Regions from separate parts of the Homo sapiens genome. Here all the other regions are linked to region 2. Evidence: promoter capture Hi-C in human tissues and cell types (Jung and others, 2019). All regions are on one chromosome and are shown on one strand. Each heading gives the region's core, a stretch centred on a gene start or on the middle of the fragment in contact. The rest is flanking DNA. Distances are from core to core; before and after follow the strand shown. Region 1 has its middle 63 kb from the start of RGMB. Region 2 holds the start of ERAP2 (endoplasmic reticulum aminopeptidase 2). Region 3 overlaps RGMB (repulsive guidance molecule BMP co-receptor b). Region 4 overlaps CHD1 (chromodomain helicase DNA binding protein 1).

The links. Contacts are between HindIII fragments. The study calls those that stand out against the background at their distance.
Region 1: a fragment that was not itself captured here is called in contact with the fragment with the promoter of ERAP2 in region 2 in 1 of the 25 tissues and cell types used here (dorsolateral prefrontal cortex).
Region 3: a contact is called between a fragment that was not itself captured here and the fragment with the promoter of ERAP2 in region 2, in 1 of the 25 tissues and cell types used here (dorsolateral prefrontal cortex).
Region 4: a contact is called between a fragment that was not itself captured here and the fragment with the promoter of ERAP2 in region 2, in 1 of the 25 tissues and cell types used here (dorsolateral prefrontal cortex).

The regions. Positions count from the first base shown.
Region 1 is chr5:98,834,910-98,837,609 of GRCh38, reverse strand. No RefSeq gene overlaps it. Among named protein-coding and RNA genes, the nearest start is that of RGMB, 63 kb to the right of the region's middle. The HindIII fragment of the contact is 5,018 bases long and covers 1-2,700 here.
Region 2 is chr5:96,875,071-96,877,770 of GRCh38, reverse strand. ERAP2 (endoplasmic reticulum aminopeptidase 2) reads right to left here and starts at 1,271. Exons shown (of 19, transcript NM_022350.5): 1 at 1,244-1,271. It also overlaps a transcript of ERAP1 not described here. RefSeq lists enhancers at 373-582, 953-1,162, 1,333-1,482, 1,503-1,632. The HindIII fragment of the contact is 2,321 bases long and covers 1,043-2,700 here.
Region 3 is chr5:98,796,171-98,798,870 of GRCh38, reverse strand. It overlaps RGMB (repulsive guidance molecule BMP co-receptor b), which reads right to left. Exons shown (of 3, transcript NM_001366508.1): 3 at 2,377-2,700. Among named protein-coding and RNA genes, the nearest start is that of RGMB, 24 kb to the right of the region's middle. The HindIII fragment of the contact is 5,798 bases long and covers 1-2,700 here.
Region 4 is chr5:98,853,402-98,856,101 of GRCh38, reverse strand. It overlaps CHD1 (chromodomain helicase DNA binding protein 1), which reads left to right. Exons shown (of 36, transcript NM_001270.4): 36 at 1-2,117. Among named protein-coding and RNA genes, the nearest start is that of CHD1-DT, 74 kb to the left of the region's middle. The HindIII fragment of the contact is 3,415 bases long and covers 1-2,700 here.

The DNA.
Region 1 (2,700 bases), core at 45-2,544, 2.0 Mb before region 2:
CACTGCACTCTAGCCTGGGCAACAAAATGTGACTCTGTCTCAAAACAACCAACAACAATAACAAAAACAGAAAAATATTCTGTGATACATTTGATGCAAAATTTTTCTGGTTGGATTTATATTTTTTGGTTAATGCAAATAATTATAAAGTAGTTAATGCCTCTGTTATAATGATATATTTGCAATATACTTGTGCAAATGTATAAATATTTTATGTATAAGTATTTTTATGTTTTAAATTGTTTTATTCCATACTCCTAAAGTATTAAATAATACTGGAATTAAATACATGAATACATTTACAAATATATATAGAATCAAGTTGGAAGTTAATCTTAGAATTTGCTTTATTTATCTCACTTTGTAAATAAGAAAATAGAGACACAAAGAGGTAAATTGACCTAAGTGGATACAGGTTAATTATTGACTTCACCAATCTCATCTAACATATATGCTTATTTCTTAACTTTGGCCTGTGTATATAGTTCTGATGTCTATGATTTATTCACTGCTGAATCTTTCATTCAACTATAACACAGGAAAACATGTTTGTCAAAATAGATTTTTCAGATATTAGACAATTCTTGTTCACATTACCTTGATCATGTGTAACCTTCATTATTGGTCTTCTAGGGTAGAGATAATATTTATTCTTGATAAATTTGGCAAAATTGAGACTAGGATATGGTACTTTGGCAAAAGTGTTCTGCTATCATAACAAGTGGCATATGTCTGTAAAGCAACTGTTTTCAGAATGGACATCTCTCACTATCTGCATATTTGAGAAAGTTCAGGATACAGTTCAGAGGCGGTAAGTACTCTCTTACTTATAATATCTAATTAAAATAGTAAGATGACTGAGCAGATGCAAATATTTTGCAAAACAGATGCCACTAAAAGGCTTTGGTAAGGATGCATGTAAATATGTAAATGTTCTTTCCAAAGACTGTCCTATTTGATTAAGAAAAAGAAACACCACGATAACAATAGACTCCATTTATTTCACAAGAAACTGGCAAGCTTTGGTGACTTTTTAATGTGTCAACTTGGCTAGTCTACATTACACTTCCCAGAATTTACTGTCCTGTGTGTTGCCAGTTAGAGTGGGCGGGACATTTTTGTGCGAGATTCAGAGGGTAAAAGTGAAGAAGCAGCCATTTTATGGCCTAGACAGCTCGTTGTTTGTCTGTTGGATCACCTCCTGGCATGAGTCAGTGACCAGGCCTGCACCTGTTCTACCCTCCCCTGAAGTCAGTGTCTCCGACTCCTGGGCCAGGTGTGTGTGTTTAACACCTTGATGAAAGGCCCTTGCTTCTGCAGGGCTTGTATTTCCTTAAGGCGAGAAGCAAAAAGAAATGACATATTGGTCAGTGTGTTCTCATGGGCTCCAATTGTGCTTATGAATTTGAGACTGTCCTTGGTCTTCCTCACTTTACACCCATCTTCTTTCCCAACTGTCTACTGTATGGACTGAAGAGTTTCAGCATCAGGTGCAAAGTCTACAGCCTTACAGAGACTGCTTAACCAGCTCCCAAAGTTGATAAGGTCAAATCCCTGTACCAAGTCCCTCTATCTATCTATCTATCTATCTATCTATCTATCTATCTATCTATCTATCTAGTCATCATAATCATCTGCCTCCTAATAGTTCTTTTCTGATATATTTCTTCATTTATTTGAAGAAGTATGACTAAAATTTCCTTCTAAGCTATATGTGTTATATATAGCACATATGTATTAAAATAAAATTAAGGATTTTGAGTTTTTCACTTTGTATTTGGACCTAAACCAAGAATGACTCTTCTTCTTCTTCTTCAACTATCAGGAACATTTGATAAGGTTGATCTGACTCTTCTTAACTCTGGCTGCATTTTACATATTAATGTGTACTTTGGGCTGCAGAAAATCCTTACTAGACTGATTTAAACACTGAGGAGAAGTTATCTTCCATAGTCCTGAACTATTTTGTCTCAAGGATAACTCATCAACAATTTAATGATGTGATTGAGGACCCAGGTCCTTTCCATTTTCTACTCTGCCATCCTGAGATAGTTTTCTTCAATACAGGATGGCTGCTGCAGTTCCAAGAGGAACAAAGGCTAGAAGAAGGGGAACTTCATTTCTCAGCAGCGAAACTCTTTCCCAGAAGTCTCTACAGCAGGTTTTCCCTCACAATGCATGGGCCAGAACTACTGTGTGTGTGTGTGTGTGTGTGTGTGTGTGTGTATAAACATATACGCAATTATATATAACATATACAAATATATACACACATATATTATATATAGAGATATATATGCCAATCTATGACAAGATGAATGGAGCACAATGATCAGCTTAGGTAAATTAGGATTTACCCCTGGAGCTGGGAGTAGCTCACCCTTCCCAGAGTGAAGTGGGCAAAATAGAATAAATTGGGATTGAGACAGCAAGAATAAAAGAGAAAAATGAATGAAAGGGAAATATGCTCCTGAGAGGCCAAGTAGTGCTGCTACATAGTAGTGGATGATTTCCGTCCCTTAAATCAGACCTCTTTTTTTCTGTCTGTTTGAAATCCTTAAAAATGTACCAAGCTCTCTGATATGGTTTGCCTGTGTCCCTACCTAAATCTCATCTTGAATTGTAGCTTCCATAATCCCCATGTGTCCTGGGAGGGACTTGGTGGGAGGTAATTGAATCATAGGGGTGGGTTTTTTCTAT
Region 2 (2,700 bases), core at 22-2,521:
TTGGTCTATTAGCTTGAATTTTGGAGGGTTTAAAAAAAATGGAGTGGCTTATTATGTGGGTCTGAGGCTTTGGAATCAGAGTGCCCAGATTCCAACGCTAATTCCACCAACCTCACCTACGTGATCATGGGCAAAGTTTTTTACTTTTTGAGCTTCATTTATCTCAACCATAAAACAGTGTAATAATTATACCTTCCTCATGCTGGGATGATTAAATGAAATAATTCATGTGAAGAAGTTGGCACAGCACAGCATGGAGCATATAGGAAGTAAGTAATTAGTGTTGGATATGAAATTATTATTGAGGTTATAACTTGCATTCAATGGCCAAAATGAAGGAGTAGCTCGCCCCCACTTGTAGCAGACACTCCTAGAGATGTACTTGATTGATAAGAGTAGAGAGAAAAGCTTTACTCACACAGTCTTTAACTTTAGAACTAGTAAGGGTTGTAAAGGCCAGCTAGTACAAGTCCTTAGTGTTCAGATAAAGAAACAGGACCGGGCACAGTGACTCAGGTCTGTAATGCCAGCATTTTGGGAGGCCAAGGTGGGCAGATCACCTGAGGTCAGGAATTCGAGACCAGCCTCACCAACATGGTGAAACCCTACCTCTACTAAAAATACAAAAATTAGCCGGGCATGGTGGCACATGCCCGTAGTCCTAGCTACTCGGGAGGCTGAGGCACGAGAATCGCTTGAACCAGGGAGGTGGAAGTTGCAGTGAGCCGAGATCGTGCTGCTGCACTCCAGCCTGGGCGACAGAGCGAGGCTCTCTCTCAAAATAAATAAATAAATAAATACATAAATTAAATTAAATAAACAGATGAAGGAACAGGATGGTGACTTCTCAAAATCCACACAGGAAGTCTGAAACAGAATCAGGACTAAAACATAGCTCTTTGCCCTTTGGTCTGGTGGGCTTTCTATTATACTGCACTGTACCTTAAATAGCAATGCAGTGAACAAAACATCCTGGGATTGAAGAGGCAAGAATTGTCACAAACGCTTAGAAAAGACAAAAAGATCTCTGAAAGAGAGTCAGTGCAGCAGCGTCTTAGATCAAGTCCCAGCCTCAACTGCATACACTTTCTAATACAGCCGCGCCCAATTCACCCCAGTCCCCCAGAACCTTGCCTTAGATTACAAAACCTTCTCAACACAGCAGTTCTATACCTTCAGTTCATTATTCTTATTGAAAAAATCTAATTTTAAGACAAACCCAAGAGAAATGTTGATACGTTACCTTAAATCATGCTGCTGCAGATTTGACTGAAGGGGAATTTACTTTTGCTTTCACTTTCTGTTCTAAGATTCAGAACTTTGCATGCTTCCTGAGTACAGTAAGTACTAGCTGGTTCATTATCACGCAGGTGTGAATGGAGCTTAGGATAAGAGCTTTATTTCAAAAAGGACAAGAAACTTTTTGTAGAATGCACAAATAAGTGGCTTTGGAGTAGAAGCCAAACCATGGAAAGAAAGGATCGCCAGTGGCTGCCACTTCTGCTGTTATCACCTCCCTTCCCTTGTCCCCAGGGTAAAGCCTTCAGAACATAGTTTATGTTTTTTAGTGCCAAGTTGTTGTCTTAGGAATTGATCTTGAACTTCTCCTTGTGCTGCATCCTCAGTGCTATGAAATCTGACTTCTGCCCATCCACCCCACAAACGTAACTCCAAGCTTACCAAACACCTCCCGGGCAGCTTCTGTGATCTTTATCAGAGGTGATTATTCTCAGATTTTCCATGTCTGTAACCACCCTGTCTCCTTGGGCACGAGGGGACTGTATCTCATGCTCATCTCTTTGATCTCTCTTTATCTGCCTGTTTGAGTTGGGCTTCAACTTCCTCTCTGCTCTGAATACAGACCTTCCACAAAGATGAAACCTCTGGCCTTTGCTCTGCCCTCTCTTTATCCTTTCCAGTACCCAGATTTAGCATTTATCCCCATTCATCCCACATTGCTCCCATTGTGATCCCTCCTTCAAGGGTTCTGCTGCTGTAATTCCAACAGCCTGATGGACCAACAGTACATGGATGTCTAACCCTAACCTGAACCAGAACCCTGACAACTCAAATAGTGTTTTCTTTCCCCAGATAAACACCCTTTGCTTTATATGCTTCCAGCCTTCTTCCATTATCTAGGATTGAACCATATAGTTAGTTACTTTGATTCTGTCCCTCTCCAATTTGTTACCAAAGCCTGTTGATTTTTCCTTTTCTTTTCTTTTTTTTTTTTTTGAGATAGGGTCTCACTCTGTCACCCAGGTTGGAGTGCAGTGGTGCCATCCCAGCTCACTGCAGCCTTGACTTCCTGAGCTCAAATGATCCTCCCACCTCAGCCTCCCAAGTAGCTGGGGCTACAGGCATCCACCACTACACCCAGCTAATTTATTATTTTTTTTTTATAGATGAGGTCTTCCCATGTTGCTCAGGCTGGTCTCAAACTCCTAGGCTCAAGTGATCCTTCTGCCTCAGCCTCCCAAAGGATTGGGATTACAGGCATGAGACACCGCAACTGGCCTTTTTGAATCATTTTCAATCTCTTTCTATCCAACTAAGAAAAAATCCCACCGCTTATTAAAGTAGTCCAGGTCCTCATCCTTCCTCACAATGGCCTTCAATCATGTCTTCCCAGCTTCTCAAGCTCAGCTTCTTGCAGTTACTTGTACGATGCCACCAGATTAATCCTTTCAACTACTGCTC
Region 3 (2,700 bases), core at 74-2,573, 1.9 Mb before region 2:
CACTATTGATTGAGATAATGTTATCTTCTGAAAATGTCATCTATGGCAGGTGCAATTCCTACTTGGTTAATTCATCTGTGGCTAGGTCTTGTATATTCAATCTGGTAGCAGAATGCTTTTTTTTTCCTTCTGGAGTTGGAGTTTTCATTACTGAAATAAAAAATGGGTCATAGAAATATTACTCATGAAGAACTCAGAAAACATTGCCCTGTTGCTTTCTTCCTGCTGAAGTTTGATAGGCCTACTTTATTACATTGCAGTTGGCAGGACCAGTTTACTCAATTGGTTTAACATCATTCCAAGGAGGGTGAGGGCATCCATTCTGGCTTTGTAGAATGTTTGTTAGTGTATCCTGCTGGGTGTTGGTTGGATTTCACACATATTTCACCGTCAGGGAGCCATGACATAACCTTTTGGGTACAAAGGACAGCATATTCTATTATTTAGTTGATAGTATCAAATGGCATGCTTATTAGAGGTACCTGGGGGAAGAAGAGCAGAATTTTTTTTTTTTTTAAGTCTCGCTCTGTCACCCCAGACTAGAGTGCAGTGGCATGATCTCAGCTCATTGCAACCTCTGCCTCCTGGGTTCAAGCGATTCTTCTGCCTCAGCCTCCCGTGTAGCTGGGATTACACGTATTCGCCGCCACACCTAGCTAATTTTTGTATTTTTAGTAGAGATGGTAGTTTCACCATGTTGGCCAGGCTGGTCTCGAACTCCTGACCTCAAGTGATCTGCCCGCCTCGACCTTCCAAATTGCTGGGTTTACAGGCATGAGCCACTGTGCCCAGCCAAAGAGCAGTAAATTTAAAGGAAAATACCATCTAAATAATAACAATTGCTTTCATGTGACTTGTCCATTTGGAAGACATACAGAAAAGGGATAGAAGCAGAAAGAAACAATATGGTTTAGGTTTAGGTAACAATATGGTTAGGTAGTGAAATAATAAAGAACTTTGAAACTGCTCCTTGAACATCCTGATTACTTTCTCTGTGGGGGAGACATTGGTTCACATACAAATAGAACAGGGAGAAAATCTGCAGCAAGGTATCTTTGCTCAGAAAGGACAGCAGCAATCCAAGACTGTTATCCCAGCTAGTTCCAGACAATAGAATACTGCCAATGCTACAAAATTAAAAATAAACAAGATAAAAAATAAATCAGATAACAGGACTCTTAGGGTTGATGTCGCTGTTGGGATTTTGGAGTTGACGTTTCAGTCCCCAAAGAGCTGGAGTTCTGGGAATGAAGACAGAATGGTAAAGAATTATTTTTGACTTTAAGCATAAAAGTCAAATAGTCTATAGCACATTTCGTTCTGCTATAGATTATCTGCATTCTTTCAGCACAGACACATCACTGGGTACTCAGTGACTATGTCATTTCATCCTATTTTATGTGGTTCAGCTGATATGATTGTCTTTTTTTTTTTTTTTTTGCTCTGAACTGCTACATGTAAATAGTCAACTGCAATGGTTAAGCTTTTTTCTTTAAGAAACGATTATGGCCAGGTGTGGTGGCTCATGCCTGTAATCCCAGCACTTTGGGAGGCTGAAGCAGGCGGATTGCTTGAGTCCAGGAGTCTGAGACCAGCCTGGGCAACATGGTGAAACCCTGCCTTCAGTCTCTACAAAAAATACAAAAATTAGCTGGGGATGGTAGCATGCACTTGTAGCCCCAGCGACTCGGGGGGATCACTTGAACCCTGGAAGTTGAGGCTGTAGTGAGCTGAGACTGCACCACTGCACTCTGGCCTGGGTGACAGAGTGAGACCCTGTCTCCAAAAGAAAAAAAAAAAAAAAGAAGAAATGATTACATGTATGTTTATCCCAGTCAGAATCTGATCCATTTAGTATTCTACCTAATACAAGTAACAGTGCTTCTCTGTGCCTTTTGTTTCAGTTATTTTCCTAACTTTTCTACCCTTTGGTGTGTTTCTTGAACAAAGACCAACTTGTGATCTCTTGATGTCTCTTTTTAAAACCCAAGAAGTGAGGATTTGTTTTCAAAGCCAGAAAATCCTGCCTTCCCAAATCCTCCCCACCAGGAGGAAGTCGTTACTGTTCACATCACCTTAAAAAGAACTAGAGTGCAGGCTGTATGTCTTCAAGGGACCAAAACTGTTACTAAAGACAGAACTTTGGGACAATACTAGTGGACCAATCTCACTGATACGGATTTGTAACTGCTTAAAATTTCAAAAGAAAAAAAATGACAGTAATGCTATAGTTTTGAAAATCAGCGAATTTGTGGGCAGGTGGCATGACTTATCAGTAACCTTTAGGGATTTTATACAATTCCCCCTCCCCCGACTCCCTTTCTTCTGCAGCTCTCAGTTCTTCCAGCAGGTGTCCCTATAATCACAGAACAGACATTCCACAGCAAGGTATGTAACTTTATTTTTCTAGCATAATAATTTAAAGTATTTACACACTGCACACTCACTGTTTTACACAGATACGTATTCATATATCTATGAACCACATCTAAAGGTTTCTTTGCAAAGACTCGACACACTGTTGGGGGGGGGGGAGCTTCCAAGCATAACAAAGAGGACAAAAAAAAGTTTTGAGTCTTTTAAAGACAGCCATGTGGAGCATCTGTGAAAACCAGTGTTTCCCCCGTTTTAAGCTCCCCCAGGAGACCTCTGAACAGCTATAGCCTATCCACATGTTGGTATGACCTGAAATTCTTCTAG
Region 4 (2,700 bases), core at 32-2,531, 2.0 Mb before region 2:
TGCCCTCCCATACAGGCTGGATAAAACTGTTTTTAAGTCAGTGATTTTAGACTGACCTCCATTTAAATTATGTTTATATATGAACTTTACTCTGACCTGTGATCATGTTTCAGGAAGGAATGAAAGAGAGTTCTTTCTTAATAAAGAAAAACACTCAAGGACTTTGTTCATTTCCAAAGCTACTTGTTTACATTGTACACTGCGACCACCTTGCCGCTTTTCATCACAAGCTTGAATATTTAAATTCTGTACTTATATCTGTAAAATAGCCAGGAATTTCCTGTTTGTGATCTATTATGCCTTTTTACAAAAAAAATGGCTGTAAATTATTGTAAATATTAAAGGAACTTTCCTTACTTCCTTCCCTTTCTCAGGCTTTTTTTGACTGTTCCTTTCCCTACCAACTCAGGCCTTCTTATTAAAAAAAAAAAAATCAGTGTAATAACACTTTTTAATGATTTGTCTTGATGGAATCATTGTTTAGAATGTAAAAATGGGGAAAGGGGCCACTTAATTCCATTAGTCCTCTTTTTATACTGAATATTTTATTAGATACATGTTATTCCCTTTTTTTTCCTTTTTTAGTCAATATTGTGTTTGTAGTTTTAAAAAATGGCGAGATATGTAAAATCTAAACTGCATGCTCTGGAAACACTTTTTTCAGATGCATCTGGTTTAAAAGGGTAGGTGTATAAACACTTTTCAGAATCCAAAACGGCCAAAAGTTATTGTAAATCCGTTTGTTTTCCCGTTTTATGTGGGCAATAATGTCAAATGTGCTATGCAGCCAGGTTAACATTTTAGATAAACTTGATTGACTTTTAATATAAACTGTTACAATGCACACTGATTGTATATAAAAACGTTATATATGACAAATTAAATTTAAGAAAAAGGATATGTGGGCTCCTGTAATTTTCTGCTGCATTCTTACTCCCTCAAGCACTTACCACCACCACCACCGCCCCCTACCCCCGTTTTTAAGTAACATTTTGCTGCCAGAAAAAGTATTTTGGTAAGCAGTTGAATATTTGTAATGTGTAGCATTACAACTAAATCTGTTTTGGAGACTATGAATATTCCTATGAAGTAAAACTTAGGTCATAGACATTTTTGTTGGCCCCTTTTGGCTTCCTACAGATATTATTATGGGATGCTTTATATTTATTCACAGATTTTTATTTTGTTTTATATTCAGCGGGAAGTTTTTAAGTCATGTGGCACACATTCTTGCATGTATGCTTTGATGTAACAAATTTGAATCTTTGACGAATATAAGTATGTGGACATAATTTCTATAGTATTGCTATGTGTGTCACTGTTAATTAGCTGTGGGAGCAACCTACAGATATTTGTCCATAGGTGTATTTTTTAATATTTTCCTTTGTCCAATTAGGTTTATGTGTATAAAAGCTTGTGGGTTTTTTTGCTTTTTGTTTTGTTTTTTGCAGTAATTTCTCTTTCTGATACAGTTACCCTGAAGAATAATAATGCTTTGTTTCTTTTCTGGTATATGAGAGAACATGTGAGGGAGTAGCTCAGTTTTTTAAACATCTAATTTATAATTAAATATAAAAGTAATGAAGGTAGTCCTGGCACACATTTTTGAAACTTTTATCACTTTTCTCTACATTTAGTATGACTATTTTATTCCACAAGATAGCATTTGACTAATTCATAATGCTTAAGTCATAAGATGGTGGCTGGCATTTTTTAATTTATTACTAAAAGCTAAGATATTTGCATTATATTGTGCAAATTTCACAGAACAATGTTGCATTTTCTGAGATAAGGCTCTAATTTTTTAAATAGTGCTACATTTAGTTGAAAGTTTCAGTCAGCTAGTTAGCTGAGTTGAATGAAAAATATAGAACTGTATGTACATTTATCAAATGATAAAATATGTTCATTTTTGTAAGAAATCAGAAAAATTAAGACGCAATGGTGAAGAACATTAGTACATAAATATAGCAGAACATTCTCCATAAAATATTCTGTTTTCATTCTGCTTTGTTATTTTTATCCAGTTATGTTTAATTTTTCAAGGGTGAGAGATTATGTATAGTACTGTACCAATTAACCTTCCACTTTTATACAATAAATAATTCTTACTAAAAGCAATAGCCTGTTTGCTTATAAAGATATTCTTTGTTTAGAGTATGTTAGAAATTAATTTTCAGACTATGGAAAATGAGTTTGAATAATTTTATTTTCAGAGTGAGTAGCTTAATGAGAACCTTTTTAATTTTATGTAATATAAATTATAATTTCTTTTTGTAGTTAATATGAAAAGGTTGAGTAGGTTATTCATTTTCATGAAGTTTATCAAGAATATGCTCTAGGAGTAAATGGCCTGATTTTTACTCTACCCCATTACTATTTCTAACTAGAAAATAATCTTTGCACCCCAAATTAGCTGTCATAGCTTTATAAATACAAATAGCTTTATAAATACAACAGCTTAAAAAGGGATAGGGATTTGGAAGAGCAACTAATTTTTAAATACAGGATTTTAAAAAACGACTTTCAGCTTCATAGGAAACTGCAAAAATATTTTAAAATATTTCTGAGTTAATATGTAAAAGCACATTAATATAGATGCCTCTATTAAATATACATTAAATACTCAATTTGAAAATGCAGACAAAACTTAGATACATTTTAGCATTGTACAATAATTGTAGTGAATGGAGGATGTTA